Regions from separate parts of the Homo sapiens genome. Here region 2 is linked to region 1. Evidence: promoter capture Hi-C in 16 types of primary human blood cells and fetal thymus (Javierre and others, 2016). All regions are on one chromosome and are shown on one strand. The core of a region is centred on a gene start or on the middle of the fragment in contact, and the rest is flanking DNA. Distances in the headings are between cores, read along the strand shown.

Region 1 (7,394 bases), core at 1,670-4,169:
TTTAAATTTTGTTGACTGCCACCCCCAAGTGAGTCTCCTCACACACCCCGTCCTGTAATATATGCATCTGGGAGGTCTTTTTTGCCTTCTTAAAAACATATAGATGGTTGGACATATGTATATAAGAATATAAAATTCACCACTTTATCTTTTGTGAATGTGTGCTGTGAAGAACTCCTTTACTGGGGTGATGGAACCAGTGGCTACAAAGTAAGGAGCTGGTTTACTGCTGTAAAGGGTTCGCGGCTTTGAATTTCAAGCTCTGGTTCTGTGTCCTTGGGCACCTGCGCGTGAATCGTTGCCGCGAGGCTGGGCCAAGTTAAGGCCCCACGCAGTTTGGCTTCCGGGCCAAGGAAGCCCCACAGGGTGCCCCACAGGGTGAAGCCCCATGCCCTACAGGGTGAAGCGGCTGAAGCTGGTAGTGGTTCCGAGGAAGCGGTCAAAGTCCCGCTCCAGAGGTTCCTCTTCTTGGTTGTCACTCCCGGAACCCCGCCAGGGGTCTGGCTTCCCCATCGACACCTCCTCCTGTTCAGTCACCATCACGTATCCCACGAGGCCGGACGGCACTGCCACCTCGTCGCCCCGTAGACTGCGGCCCCGAAACTACACTTAAGAGTCCCTCGGGGCCCTGGCGGATGGCAGGCGTGATGAAGCGCCACACCGTGGTGGGCCGCAGGGTATCAGGTGTAGTGTGGCGGGGGCGGCGTCCTGCAGTGTGGCTGGGCGCAACTGGACGCTGTACCTCTCCATAGCCGCCTAGTCGCCGCTCTCCATCCTCGCTCCTGTGCGACGCCACTTTATCCCTCTTAAACTGGACGATTCAGTAGTACCGGGGAACGAAGGCAACAAGACCTAACCATAGCAACAACATTTTGTTTTTGAAACCCATCTTGCAACTGCCTGACTGCAAAATGTACTTGCAGATTCTGCAGACAAAAATTGCTGCCACTTATTAAAAGACTTCATAGTGAAAACTGACTTTTTACCCAAACCACTGATTCAAGGACTTTTGCGTAGAAACTCATGAACTGTTAAGATAACCCTTCATTACCAATTAAGATAATAGGTTGTAAGTAACCTAATGAGTACCAACTTTCTCTTATTTCCTTTAAAAACTGTCTCTCAAAACAGCCGGTCACGACACAATGTCAGATGCTTCTGGAATCTGTTTCTCTAATTACAGTTCTAAAACTGCCAACAAACTCCTTATTTGGACTTCAGTTTCTCTGACTCTTTGGTTCACCATGTTGTGCAGCCATCACCTCTCTCTAGTTCCAGAGCATATTTTATCAATCCTCAAAAGAAACCGTGCATCCACCAGCAGTAACTCCCCACAACCTCTTTCATCCAGTCCTTAGCAACCATTAATCTGGTTTTAGTCTCTATTCATTTGCCTTTCCTGGATATTTCATATACATGGGATCATTCAGTATCTGGCCTCTTGTATCTGACTTTTTCACACAGTGTAACATTTTCAAGGTTCACCTATGTGGTGCCTTGTGTCATTTTTTGCTATTTTCATGTCAGGTTTTGAAATGGTATGTTTTTTCTCATCTTGTAAGGGATTTCCTGTTGTAGAAAATCTGTTTCTGTGTATGACTGCAATTTAACCATTTTATTTGCTATCCAGATACATGTTTTAACTTGAGCCAACTATATTTCCACTTTGTATAATGAATACTAAATTTTGTATCTTAGATACTAAACTTTAGTAGATAACTAGGATACAAATTACAGTTTTCATATTTTTCTTTTCATGGAATATAATTTTTTAAAGTTTCTGATATTAATTCATTATAACATTTACTGGACAAACCAACCACATTTGGTTCTATGAACTCTTTTCATATTTTACGGGATTTTTATTTTGTTGTCTTAGGAATTGTGGCATCATTCAGTTTTGCTGAGAGTTTATTTTTATTAATAGGTTCTGTGTACTATGCAACCTGTAGTTGTTACTCCTGTTTTGCAAATATGGCATTAAAACATTGGTGAGTGGGGGGACTTTCCTCCCATTTTATTTCAGCAAAGAAATCTTGTCATTTCTCTTCAGACTTTAAGATTTATTGAGGAGAGTTATTCACTTGTTTAGTCTGGTAAACTGTGACCTTTAAATTTTGAAGGAGGTTGAACTAAAAGGTGAAATATGATAAATTGATGGCTCTATTTGTTGTGAATGGAAATTTAATTTAGACTTGTAAAAGATTGTTTTTTAAATTGCTAATTGTGTGACAGTGAAGAGAATGACTTCAAAATATCCCACTATACAATCTGCAAAGAAAAGAATTGTGTCCCCTTTTTAGTGTAGCTTAACACTTCACTGAAACTGTTTTGAGTTCTTAGGTCATATTTTTTTTTCTCTAAACGAAACAATTACTTTTCTAAAAGTCAAATGTTAGCCATCCTAGAAGTTGGGCATAAAATACTTGTAAGTATATGCTAATATTCTGATACTTAATGCCTGTGAAAAATGTGTATAGAATTTTCAATTTTTAAATAGAAGTGAAGAAAAAGCGATAATAATTACTATAAATTCAATATGCAGTTATGTATGTATGTGTGTGGTTAAGACAATTAGGTTCTCATTAAGCTTTGTTTTTTTAAAGATAACATACACATATATTGATAATGATAAACAATTCATATAGCTTTTTGTGTCCTCTCGTTTTGTGACATAAAAGGTCAATGAAAAAATTGGCGATTAAGTCAAATTCGCATTTTTCAGGACAGCAGTAGAGCAGTCAGGGAGGCAGATCAGCAGGGCAAGTAGTCAACGTTACTGAATTACCATGTTTTGCTTGAGAATGAATACATTGTCAGGGTACTAGGGGGTAGGCTGGTTGGGCGGGGTTGAGGGGGTGTTGAGGGCGGAGAAATGCAAGTTTCATTACAAAAGTTAACGTAACAAAGAATCTGGTAGAAGTGAGTTTTGGATAGTAAAATAAGTTTCGAACTCTGGCACCTTTCAATTTTGTCGCACTCTCCTTGTTTTTGACAATGCAATCATATGCTTCTGCTATGTTAAGCGTATTCAACAGCGATGATTACAGTCCAGCTGTGCAAGAGAATATTCCCGCTCTCCGGAGAAGCTCTTCCTTCCTTTGCACTGAAAGCTGTAACTCTAAGTATCAGTGTGAAACGGGAGAAAACAGTAAAGGCAACGTCCAGGATAGAGTGAAGCGACCCATGAACGCATTCATCGTGTGGTCTCGCGATCAGAGGCGCAAGATGGCTCTAGAGAATCCCAGAATGCGAAACTCAGAGATCAGCAAGCAGCTGGGATACCAGTGGAAAATGCTTACTGAAGCCGAAAAATGGCCATTCTTCCAGGAGGCACAGAAATTACAGGCCATGCACAGAGAGAAATACCCGAATTATAAGTATCGACCTCGTCGGAAGGCGAAGATGCTGCCGAAGAATTGCAGTTTGCTTCCCGCAGATCCCGCTTCGGTACTCTGCAGCGAAGTGCAACTGGACAACAGGTTGTACAGGGATGACTGTACGAAAGCCACACACTCAAGAATGGAGCACCAGCTAGGCCACTTACCGCCCATCAACGCAGCCAGCTCACCGCAGCAACGGGACCGCTACAGCCACTGGACAAAGCTGTAGGACAATCGGGTAACATTGGCTACAAAGACCTACCTAGATGCTCCTTTTTACGATAACTTACAGCCCTCACTTTCTTATGTTTAGTTTCAATATTGTTTTCTTTTCTCTGGCTAATAAAGGCCTTATTCATTTCAGTTTTACTGGTATTTCATTTTAAACTTAATTTCAAGACAAGTTGTGTCAACACGATTAACATGCAAAGAAATAAGACATCCAGAAGTGAGCCTGCCTATGTTTGTGGCCGTCAGAGTACTAACTTGATACAAACGGACACTGTGGCTTACTTTAAATGCTCTAATGAGAAACACACTTGAAAATTGTACCAAAAAAAATCACACTTCTATATGCAGCGTGTTAAGCAGTCCTCTCTAGACCGTGTATTCATTGGTCTTTCAGCTACTTTGTACGTGTCTATAAATTGCAGGTAACTAAGGAATGGATATGTAAGCAGGATCAAACTTGTTTCTTTCTCTCCCCTTCACGCTGTGGAAAAAACCAGTTTTACCTCCACTTGCAATTCAGTTCCTTTACTCCATATAAATCCAAACGGTTGACATTTCCTTTCAACTAGTTATAAAATGCCTCTGGTAAAACAAAATATTTAATTCCTTGTCATTTTTGTATCTCTATGAAACTTATCATTTTGCCTTTCTTCTGAAAACTATCTTTTAAAATGGCAATCTACTTGTTTCCATGGCCTATTAACTTTTAAGCCTGTGGAATGAAAAATACAGAATTTTCATTCTCAACAGGAATGTTGAGAACGCCGACTACCCAGATTATGGAGATGGAAGGGCGGGGGCTGGTGACCCAACTGGTTTAATTTGATGGGATTTAAATAAAAATGTAATGCCAAGACTTCATAAAATTTGCACATAAGCTAAAGCAGGAAACTAGAAGTTTACAAATAACTGTAAACCACAGTTTAAAGTATAAATTACAAATAAATTTTTCTACAATAAAAATAAATCAAAAGTCAAAATTAATGGTATGTATCAAAGTCAGCTTTCCAATATTTCAAAACTTTTCAGAGACATTACCTTAAATAATAAAACTCAAACACTAAAAGAGTGTATATTAGAGATGGATGTCATGTTTCTCAAAGTTCAGGGTTTAAAAAAAGCTTTATTCCAGAGACAATATTACTTAATCTGAGCTTTATGCCAAATGAGAACTGTATATTGCCCATTACCTTTTAAACACTGACTCAAAACTACTTTGTAATATTTAAAACCACTCTTTTCACTCTCCCAAAAATAACACCCATTCTGACCTTCATTACCATACATTAATTTTCCTTTTCTTGAACCTCTGACACAGATTCTCTGTTTGACCAAACTTTAGTCAGGTTTCTGAACCTTCTCCTAGACTCGCCTGTGCACTTCCTTGCCAAACTCAGTTTTGGCAAAGAACTCTCCTAAGCCAGGTTAGCCAGACTGTACCCCCACCGCATATCTGATCACACTCAACACTTGATCGATCACCCTCAATATCTGATCAGGTTTCTCATCCTCCACCACCCTCTAGGTGATGTCTGATCAGCCTAGCCTGTCTTCAGCAAGAATCCTCCTTATCTATGATGTCTTCTCTTAGTGATTGTCCATCCATTGACCCTACTCCCTGCTCCTTGGCTATAAATCCCCACCTACCCAGCTGTGTATGTGGAGCTAAGGCCAATCTCTCCCCCAGTGCAAGACCTCATTGCTGTGCTGTTGGTCGTGAATAGTCTTCCTTATCAAGTTTGAACAAGTATCACTGAATACCATTTTTCCTTAACAATGTGAATAAATATAAATACAAAATATTATGTGGAGCTTCTTTTGCTTAATACATTTTGGTGGTTTTCAGATTATTAAAAATTATGACATCATGCATGTATACATTTTGGAAAGACTAAATCAAGCTAATGTATCTACTACCTCATATACTTCCCTTTCCTTTTGCACTGGGAACATTTAAATTGTATTCTCTTAGCAATTTTCAAGCATACAATACATTCTTATTACCTATATTCAACATGCTTTACAATAGATCTGAACTAATTGCTTCTATCTAGATGAAATATTATAATTTTTGAATAACAATACTCATCTCTTCACCTGACCCTACTAGAGGGTAGCCACAATTCTACTCCCAAAAATATGAAAGACTTCACATTTGAATACCCTCCTGGCCCAGGGACAGTGTTATTCTTCTCCATACCATTCTAATTTTAGTGTATATGCTGCCCAAACTAGAATTTTTAAGAAAAAATTGTTGTGCGTATTTCATTCTATTTTTGTTGGACAAATGAATGGACACTTACTGGTTTCAATTATTACAAACAGTGCTTTTTTATACATTCTTATACATGTACAATGGAGAACATTTATAAGAATTTCTGTGAAGCACACTCCCAGGAGAGGAATTGATACTTTATGTATGGTTTACTTAGGAATTACTGAAATGAAGCATTTTTGTATTTTTGTGATGTTTAAACAAACATCAATAAACAAACAAATTCTAACTATAAGTATCAAGTGTGCTTTGGCTGCCAATGGATGTTTGCTATATTTTAAAATGCCAACACTTAAAATACATTAAGAGGGAGCTTGGTACTGAATAAAGAACACAGGCTCTGGAAGGTAAACCCTTCAGCTTTGGCTCACTTGAGTGCCACTTACAGGCTTGAGCTTGAACAATTTACTTCGCTGTCTGAGTCTCAGTTTTTTCAATTCTGTAATAATTTTGTTAGTTGAAATGCTATTTACTAATAAAACCAACCCATGAAGAGATGTGAAGGCTACATGAATTAAGGTACACAAGCATTAAATAAGTGAGTGTATATAAGAAATACTTAGAACAGGCTGGGAGCAGTGGCTCACGCCTGTAATCCCAGCACTTTGGGAGGCCAAGGTGGGTGGATCACGAGGTCAGGAGATTGAGATCATCCTAGCTAACATGGTGAAACCCCGTCTCTACTAAAAATACAAAAAATTAGCCAGGCTTGGTGGCGGGCGCCTGTAGTCCCAGCTACTTGGGAGGCTGAGGCAGGAGAGGGCTTGAATCCAGTAGATGGAGCTTGCAGTGAGCCAAGATGGCGCCACTGCACTCCAGCCTGGGCGACAGAGCAAGACTCCATCTCAACAAAAAAAAAAAAAAAAAAAGAAAAGAAAAGAAAAAAAGAAATACTTAGAACAGACATCAGCATTAGTGAAGAATTAACTAAATATTTGCTATTATTAACCTGAAAGTAATTGCTCCATCTAAAAAATATCTTAGTGAAGAGTAATGTAGATATTCATGATTGATTAGACATTATTTCATTAGGCATTGAAGTGGGTAATGTTTTTCCCAATGTCACGATTTTACTGATGTGAAATACATTAATTTTCCATATTTGTTCCAAATCTGTTCCACAAAGATTTGTTTCTACAAGGTGTAGAAACAAAAGGTAGTTATCAGAGTTCTAGTATTTCAAGAAATTTAATTAATATTTTATTTCATATTGGACTATGTAATAATGTCAAGAGTAAAAATCTTCATGAGATATTGTGCACAGATCTTTTATTTATAGATGCATGAACTTTGGCAAATGCATATGCCTGAGTAACTATCACCCCAACTAGGTTACAAGCTATTTACATCATTCCTTCAACCCTTAAAATTTCCTGTGCCCTTTTGCAATTCCTCTGTCAATTGCATGATTTCTATCATGCAATTGAGAGATCTTTTTTTTTTTTTTTTGAGACAGAGTCTTGCTCTGTCACTCAGGATGGAGTACAGTGGCCCAATCTAGGCTC
Region 2 (7,191 bases), core at 1,701-4,200, 320 kb before region 1:
GACTTCTATTTTTATTGCACTGTGATCCAAGAGTCTGTTTGGTATAATTTCAGTTATTTTGCATTTGCTGAATATTGTTTTATGCCCAATTATGTGGTCAATTTTTGAGTATGTGCCACGTGGCAATGAGAAGAATGTATATCCTGGTTTCGGCTAGAGAGTTCTGTAAAGGTCTATCAGATCCATTTTGTCCATTGTTGAGTTTAGGTCTTGAATATCTTTGTTAATTTTTTGCTTCTATGATCTGTGTAATACTATCAGTAGAATGTTGAAGTCTCTCACTATTATTGTGTCGTAGTCTAAGTTTGTAGGTCTCTAAGAACTTGCTTTATGAATCTGGGCGCCACTGTTTTGGGTGCATATATATTTAGGATAGTTAGGCCTTCTTGTTGAATTGAGCCCTTTAGTGCTATGTAAGACTCTCCTTTGTCTTTTTTGATCTTTGTGGGTTTACAGTCTGTTTTATCTGAAATTAGGATTGCAACCCCTGCTTTTTTCTGTTTCCCATTTTCATTCTCCCCAGCAAAGCTTTTGGACTGGAAAACTGACCTAATTTCTGACTGTTCCCTCCCAGTGTCACTTGTCCACATTATGCCATGCTCTCTGGCAGCTGTGTTTCCATACAGCTCTTATGGAAATTACATTTAGTTTTTTAAAATATAAAATAGAATAGAAAATATAAGTGAGGCTAGAGCTGCATTTGAGTAAATGTTTTTATCTACACAATTCATATTACAGTGCAGGAAAATTCAATGGCCTATCACATAATAAAGTTAACAAATTTAACTGAATCATCCAGATAATTCTGGGTAAGGTATTTGTCTCTTATCTTCAAATGCTACTAAAAAGTAGAAATAACTATTATACTTTTAACTAATAAATTTAAAAATTATAAATGACTGAAATTTGGGTAAAAGGAACTTTTGCATCTCACATGTAATGATCTAGGAGGATAGTGCAATGTATGTATCACAATGAAGGGCATTCTGTGCAAAAATTAAGAGAAATGAATGGGAGAGTCTACCATCCCCACTTTCTTTCAGGGGGAATATATAATGAGCTGAATAAATCTTAAGAGATCATATACAATCTTAATATCACAGATTGGATGGAATGATAAGGTGACCAAGGTGTTGCTGTGTGCTGTGTGTGAAAATCTGCACTTTATTATCAAACGTCAATTGATGTACATGGTGCAAAACGAGGTGTGATTTTTCTTCCATTAGAGCAACTTAATTATGTTCATTTTTTAAAAGGTATATATATACTTTCAATACAATATTATCTGGGAGAAGCCATTCATTCAGATCTTTGTATTATTATAATATTATAGTTATAACTAATTATAATGATAACCTTTCCACATCTAGAATTATTCATTTATTTAAAATCTTAATATATGTACATTTTTCCTATGATGAGGCCACAAAAGATAATAAATGAGAAAGAATTATGCTGAGCGTAGAGCTGGAATCCTGGTGAGTACCATAAAATATAGTTTTTCTTAAAAGAAGAATCAGTCTAAACAAAGAAATTACCCCACCGCCAAGGAAAAGGGCCTTCAAATTGCCTATCCAGCAGCATTGCATAATTGCTATGAATCTTTCATTCTCCTTTATTCTGAATGGGAAATTTTTATTGTCATGATTTTGTTCCAGCCCCATTATTTTATATTTGGTGGGGTAGCAAATAAATTGTTTTGTAATTTTGTGCAACCCTGGGCCATAAAAAAATACCCAACTAATAAAATAACTGTGGTTCACTGGGTTTCACGTAAAAAAAAAAATATATTGTCCTAGATTCTGGTTTCACAGATTTATCTTTTAAAGTTATCCCTAAAAGAATATATATAAATTTTGTGCAATTTCCTATACATGTGTTATACTCCTCAATGAAAGCTGAAATTTTAAAAAGAGGAAAATTGAAAAAATTGGAATTAGAAACAAGTTAACATATATCTACAAAAATGATGCCAGTAGATCTACAGAATTATTTTAAATCTATATGCAGTGTTCAGAGGTTTTACCAAAACCACAAGAAAACAGGAATTGTTACAGTAAAATAATACAAAATAATATGGCAGGCAAATACTAATTAAAAAAGAGCTACTTTGGTTATATTAAAATCAGATAAAATAAATTTCAAGGCCCAGTGAACAAGAGATGATGGGGTTCAATTTGTCAGGAAGATATTAATATAATAGTTCTAACCTGACAGATCTGTATGATATACATTCATGCATGTACACACATACTTATATCTATGTTTATATTGATATATAGTTATAAATATATACAGATGACCTCTACTTAACTATGGTTCAACTTATGATTTTTTGCATTTGTGATGGGTTTATTGGGGTGTGACCTCATTGTAAGTCAAGGAACAGCTGAACTTATGATAGTTCAACTTAATATTTTTTTTTACTAACAATGTGTTTACTGGGGTATTAAATGCATTGTGATTTCCAAAATTTTTGAGTTATTATGAGTTTATCAGGGCATAAATCTATCATAAATCAAGGAGCATCTGTATATGTGCAAAATATGCTGAAAGTTACTACATCAGTGAGGATTTAAAAACATATCTTTCAGTAATTGATGGGTGAAACAGGTAAAAATTGTGATTAAGAATATTTGGGTAACATATAGTAAGAATGATCAAATGAGTATATATAGAACACTATACCAAAGAACTGACGAATATACAGTTTCAAGAAACAGGAAACATTCATGAAAATCAACAATATAATAGGAAATAGAGCAATTCTCAGTGGTTTTCCAATATTAATTTCATACACATAATAATATCTAACTGCAATGTTATTAATTTTTAAATAATACAAAGATAACTCACAATATCATAAGCTTGGAATTTTAAAAACACTTTTCTACATAAATTAATGCTAAATAAAAAATCCCAGTGGGGAATAAGTGATCTTTAGAATTGAAGAAAATAAAATAATATTACATATCAATAATCATGAGATGCATTTAATGCAAAAAGTGAAATATTTCTGGTAATTCAAGCTTAAATTTGAACAATTCTTACAGATTATTTTTAACTGAAGTCAATCCTGAAATTTTAAATGGAAGTACAGTCAAGGAACCAAAGGCCAAAGAGCCAAGTATAACCCAGAAGAAATAAGATACGAAAATTTGCTATAGCAGTGATTAAAATTTACTATCAAACAATTGCAATTAACACTGCATGGTGTGAGTGCAAGGATTGAAAGCTAAAAACACGTTAGAGAGTCAAGAAATAGACCTGCAAAAATATGAACACCAGATATTGTATAGAGGTAAAAGTATAGACTAGTCAGTCAGTGGCCCTGAGATAAGTATTTATCCGGAAACTATAAAGCAAGCAAAATAGTGTATCCGTCATGACATATGCAAAAGTTAATTTCCAGTATATCAGAGACTTAAATATGAAAGGCAAATTTAAATAATTTTTTCAGGAATATAAATGGAGGTATTTTTCTGATATATAGATAATTTTTAAGAGAAATAACATACTTAAGTAAAAGAAACTAGTAAGTATTGATAAGTTAATCTATTTTGAATTGTGGACTTTTCATCATCAAAAGACGCCATAAAAAGAATTTTCACGCTGAGAGCAGATCTTTGCAACATAAAAAACCAGTGTAGGATTAATGTCCATAACATATTAAGAAATTCATATAAACCAAAATGTCAAACCACCCAATTAAACTGCAGGCAAAAGATGCAAACAAGTATTTTATGGAAGAGAAAATCTGAATAGCAATAACATATAAAGGTGATCATCTTGTAACTGATGCAGTCATTCCATTTTGGAAACAAATAACTATTCTTTCTTTTACGATACCTAATTGTGTGCTTGCTTAAGAATTCCAAGAACTAACCCCAAGATAAAACCAAGGCTGTGAAATGTTCTTAATGGAAAAAAAATACTGAGCAGTTAATCTTCAATCTTATTAGAGGTTGGATGATGCCAGCTACACCTCTTGATGCCCATTCCTCATGACAGTCGTTGGAAAAAGACATTCTGAAATGCATAGCTAACTCCTGCACATAGTTTCCCAAGCCCTTTCCCCTTTAAAACCCCTATGTCCAGGCTGAGAAACTTGAGATGGTCTTTGCTATGCAAGTCCACCATCTCCTTGGATTGTCAGGTCCTGAATAAACCTGCTTTTCTCTTCCACCAACGCTTGCCTCTCAAGTTTTGGCTTTCAATTGGCAAACAACTGAACCTGAGTTCAGTTACAATCTCATTACTAATCAGGAAATTAAAACCACTGCGTAATACATTTACAATCTGATTTAAAGTATTACTCAATCATGTGAAGCCAAGGGAGCTATGGAAATGTAAAATGTTACAACTGTTCTAAAAAGCAAGTTAGAAATATCTTGGCAAAGCAGAATTTCCAAACAGCTGATGCTTAAACAACTCCATAACCAAATATGTACATTAAAGAATAAATATTCAAACTCATGTATGCTATAATGTACCTCAGGGGTAAACTCAGACAGATCTTCAGTTTCTATACATATTTCCTCCAAATATTGACCTCACTGAGAAGTCCCTGTTTCCGCTTTTGCAAGTCCTCAGTCATAGCTGCCAATCTCCAGTTTAACAAAATAAAGGTAGCCATTTCTCCTATCTGGAACATTACAATAGTACATTAGAGTGTACCAATCTGTAGAGCATCCTACAAGGAAACAGTATGAGCATACAAAGTTTCTGAGGAAGATTTTTATTGTGAAAGCAAACTAAAAAGATGTGTAAAAAATATTGCCTTTATTTCACCTAAGTACAAAACTACTATCAAAAATTTTTGTCTGTTTCAATCAATCACTCTATCAATCATTTATATATCTGCATACTGTATCTACCCAGGAATCTTTAAAAATGAGATGTTTAATGGGCATCTTAAGCTTTATTGGAGTTCAAAAGTGAAATTATTCTTATTGGTAATGCAAGTAATTTTTGATTCTCAGAGTGGGAACTGTTTTGCCAATTAGAGTATATAGTAGACATTTTCCCAAATTGTATGAGATAAAGCTATAGCTTTAAGGGTTTGAGGAAAACACATTTTTAAGACACATTTATAGTATGCTAGAAATTAAATATTTTTGCAATTCTTTTACATAAAAATATTTAGACACCAACCCAAACATATGTGAAGTGGACATAGTTTTTTTCAGTTGTATTAAAGAAAAAAGTTTGAAGATTGCTGCTGAAGAGATACTCCCATGTTCAATAGAAAATGTGCACATAATGTTCATAGCATCATTATTTGTAACATCAAAAAAATAGAAGCAACCAAAATAACCACTAGCCAGGGGATACATCGATATAATTGTGCTATTTTCATATGGTAGAGAACTGCAGAGCAGTGAAAATAAATAACCTACATATATATCAAGAATATGGATGAATGTATCTTGCAGATATTGTTGAGTAAACTAATAAGAAAATCAAGAATGTTATATATGCTGATTCCAGGAAAGTTGCTCTTTCCAGGGTTGTTGAAGGGAATGAGATTCATGAAAGCAAATGAAATGTTTCAAGACTATGAATAATCATCTATTTTTAAAAAAATAGTATGATTGTTAAATGGTTGTAGGTTTTATGATCCTTTTAAATGGTTAAAAGCTACATATGATTTTATGTGTCACATACATATCAACACACACACATACATATATCATATACCACACACAAACACACAGACAGACACACACACAGCCATATATAAAGATAAAACTTTCTACCAGAAAAGTAACCTCTGAAAATTTTAAAGATATTTGAAAGTATTATGTACATATATACTATGGTCAATGTGAAAAGGCATTCTGTTATTTTAAATCTGAAGGCACAGCTTAAATCATGTTTTTATTTTATTTAATTCAGAAAAAGTAACTAGTTTTTGAAATGCTATATTTGGTTTGATGCTAAAAAGTTAAGTGGGAACAGATGCAAGTAGTGTCTGTGGTGAAATCACTCAGAAAGAGTGAGCAAAATATGTTTAACATTCTTCTGAGAAAGGGAATGCCAAAATAATTCTGTCACATGGCTCTCAATTTTTAAAGATGGTAAAATATGACTATTCATTAGGAAGAATAGGGTTTCTAAATCTGGAGATTATTGGCATTTTGAGTTAGATAATTATTTGTGGTGGGGGGCTGACCTATGCATTGTAGGACCTTTCACAGCATCCATGGCATCTGCCTACTAACATCATCCACGCAGTTTTGACCATTGAATATGTCTCCATAAATAACACGTCTTCTGGAGAATAGGGGTGTGTAAAATCACCATAGTTAAAAAGCCCTGATCTAGTGTTAGGGAAATAATGGGATACACACACACACACACACACACACACACACACACACCATATTCATATTTTCAATATAAATATTCTGAATATAAATATACGTATTTTTAATATATTCCAATTAATATATCAGTTGAATATAAATATACATTGAATTACCATTGTTTATGACTGCTGTTGAGAGCGCCACTGGGAATCAAGCTTTTGAAAGTCATGTAGGCAACATGTAACAACAGTCTTAATCTATATCTCTTGTTCCAGAAATTCAGCTTTCAGAAAGGAAGAAATAATAAATGATTAATAGCAAATGTTGATGTCAATCTAAATCTCCATAATAGAAAAACTGTTAAACTGATCATTGGTAAAGACAAACAGTGGAAAACTAAACAATATTTTAGCTAATTACACTTAAAGACATGAAAATAACATATAATGTACAAAAGTCTCTTTTGCCATGCTAGGTGACATATTCACAGGTTTTGGGGATTAGATTGTGGGCATCTTTTGAGAGCATTATTCTGTCTACTACACAAACCCAGAACTCATCACTATCCTACAAGGTAAAAACTTGAACATTAAAGCAAATATTACAACTCAACTTCGGCTCTTTGAGGCAGAGACCAGAACTAAATGCTTATTTAATAAAAAGTGCACCCGGATGTGATTTTGTTAAAAGTAATTAAAATGACAGAAAACATACCTTACAAAACATGAACAGAAAATAAAATCCAAAAGAAGATAGCAAAAACACCAAAAAGTATAATGGCTATTTGTCATGCTTATAAATCAATAATAGAAGTTTTGTATGATTAGTATTGCTTTAAGAGTAGTTATGTTATGCAAAATTATTTGTTATAAAAGGAGCT

What was found. The method cuts DNA at HindIII sites, captures the fragments that hold promoters and counts their contacts. A CHiCAGO score of 5 or more calls a contact.
Region 2: a contact is called between a fragment that was not itself captured here and the fragment with the promoter of SRY in region 1, in 5 of 17 cell types (M0 macrophages, non-activated CD4 T cells, M2 macrophages and 2 more). The highest score is 8.5, in M0 macrophages.

Annotation. Positions count from the first base shown.
Region 1 is chrY:2,783,207-2,790,600 of GRCh38, reverse strand. It overlaps SRY (sex determining region Y), which reads left to right and starts at 2,919. Exons shown (of 1, transcript NM_003140.3): 1 at 2,919-3,746. The coding sequence starts at 2,998. The coding sequence ends at 3,612. It also overlaps the pseudogene RNU6-1334P and the pseudogene RNASEH2CP1. RefSeq lists promoters at 2,588-2,901, 927-2,901, 1-2,997. The HindIII fragment of the contact is 2,145 bases long and covers 2,593-4,737 here.
Region 2 is chrY:3,101,488-3,108,678 of GRCh38, reverse strand. It overlaps LINC00278 (long intergenic non-protein coding RNA 278), which reads right to left. Exons shown (of 4, transcript NR_046502.1): 4 at 6,407-6,594. Among named protein-coding and RNA genes, the nearest start is that of LINC00278, 100 kb to the right of the region's middle. The HindIII fragment of the contact is 162 bases long and covers 2,870-3,031 here.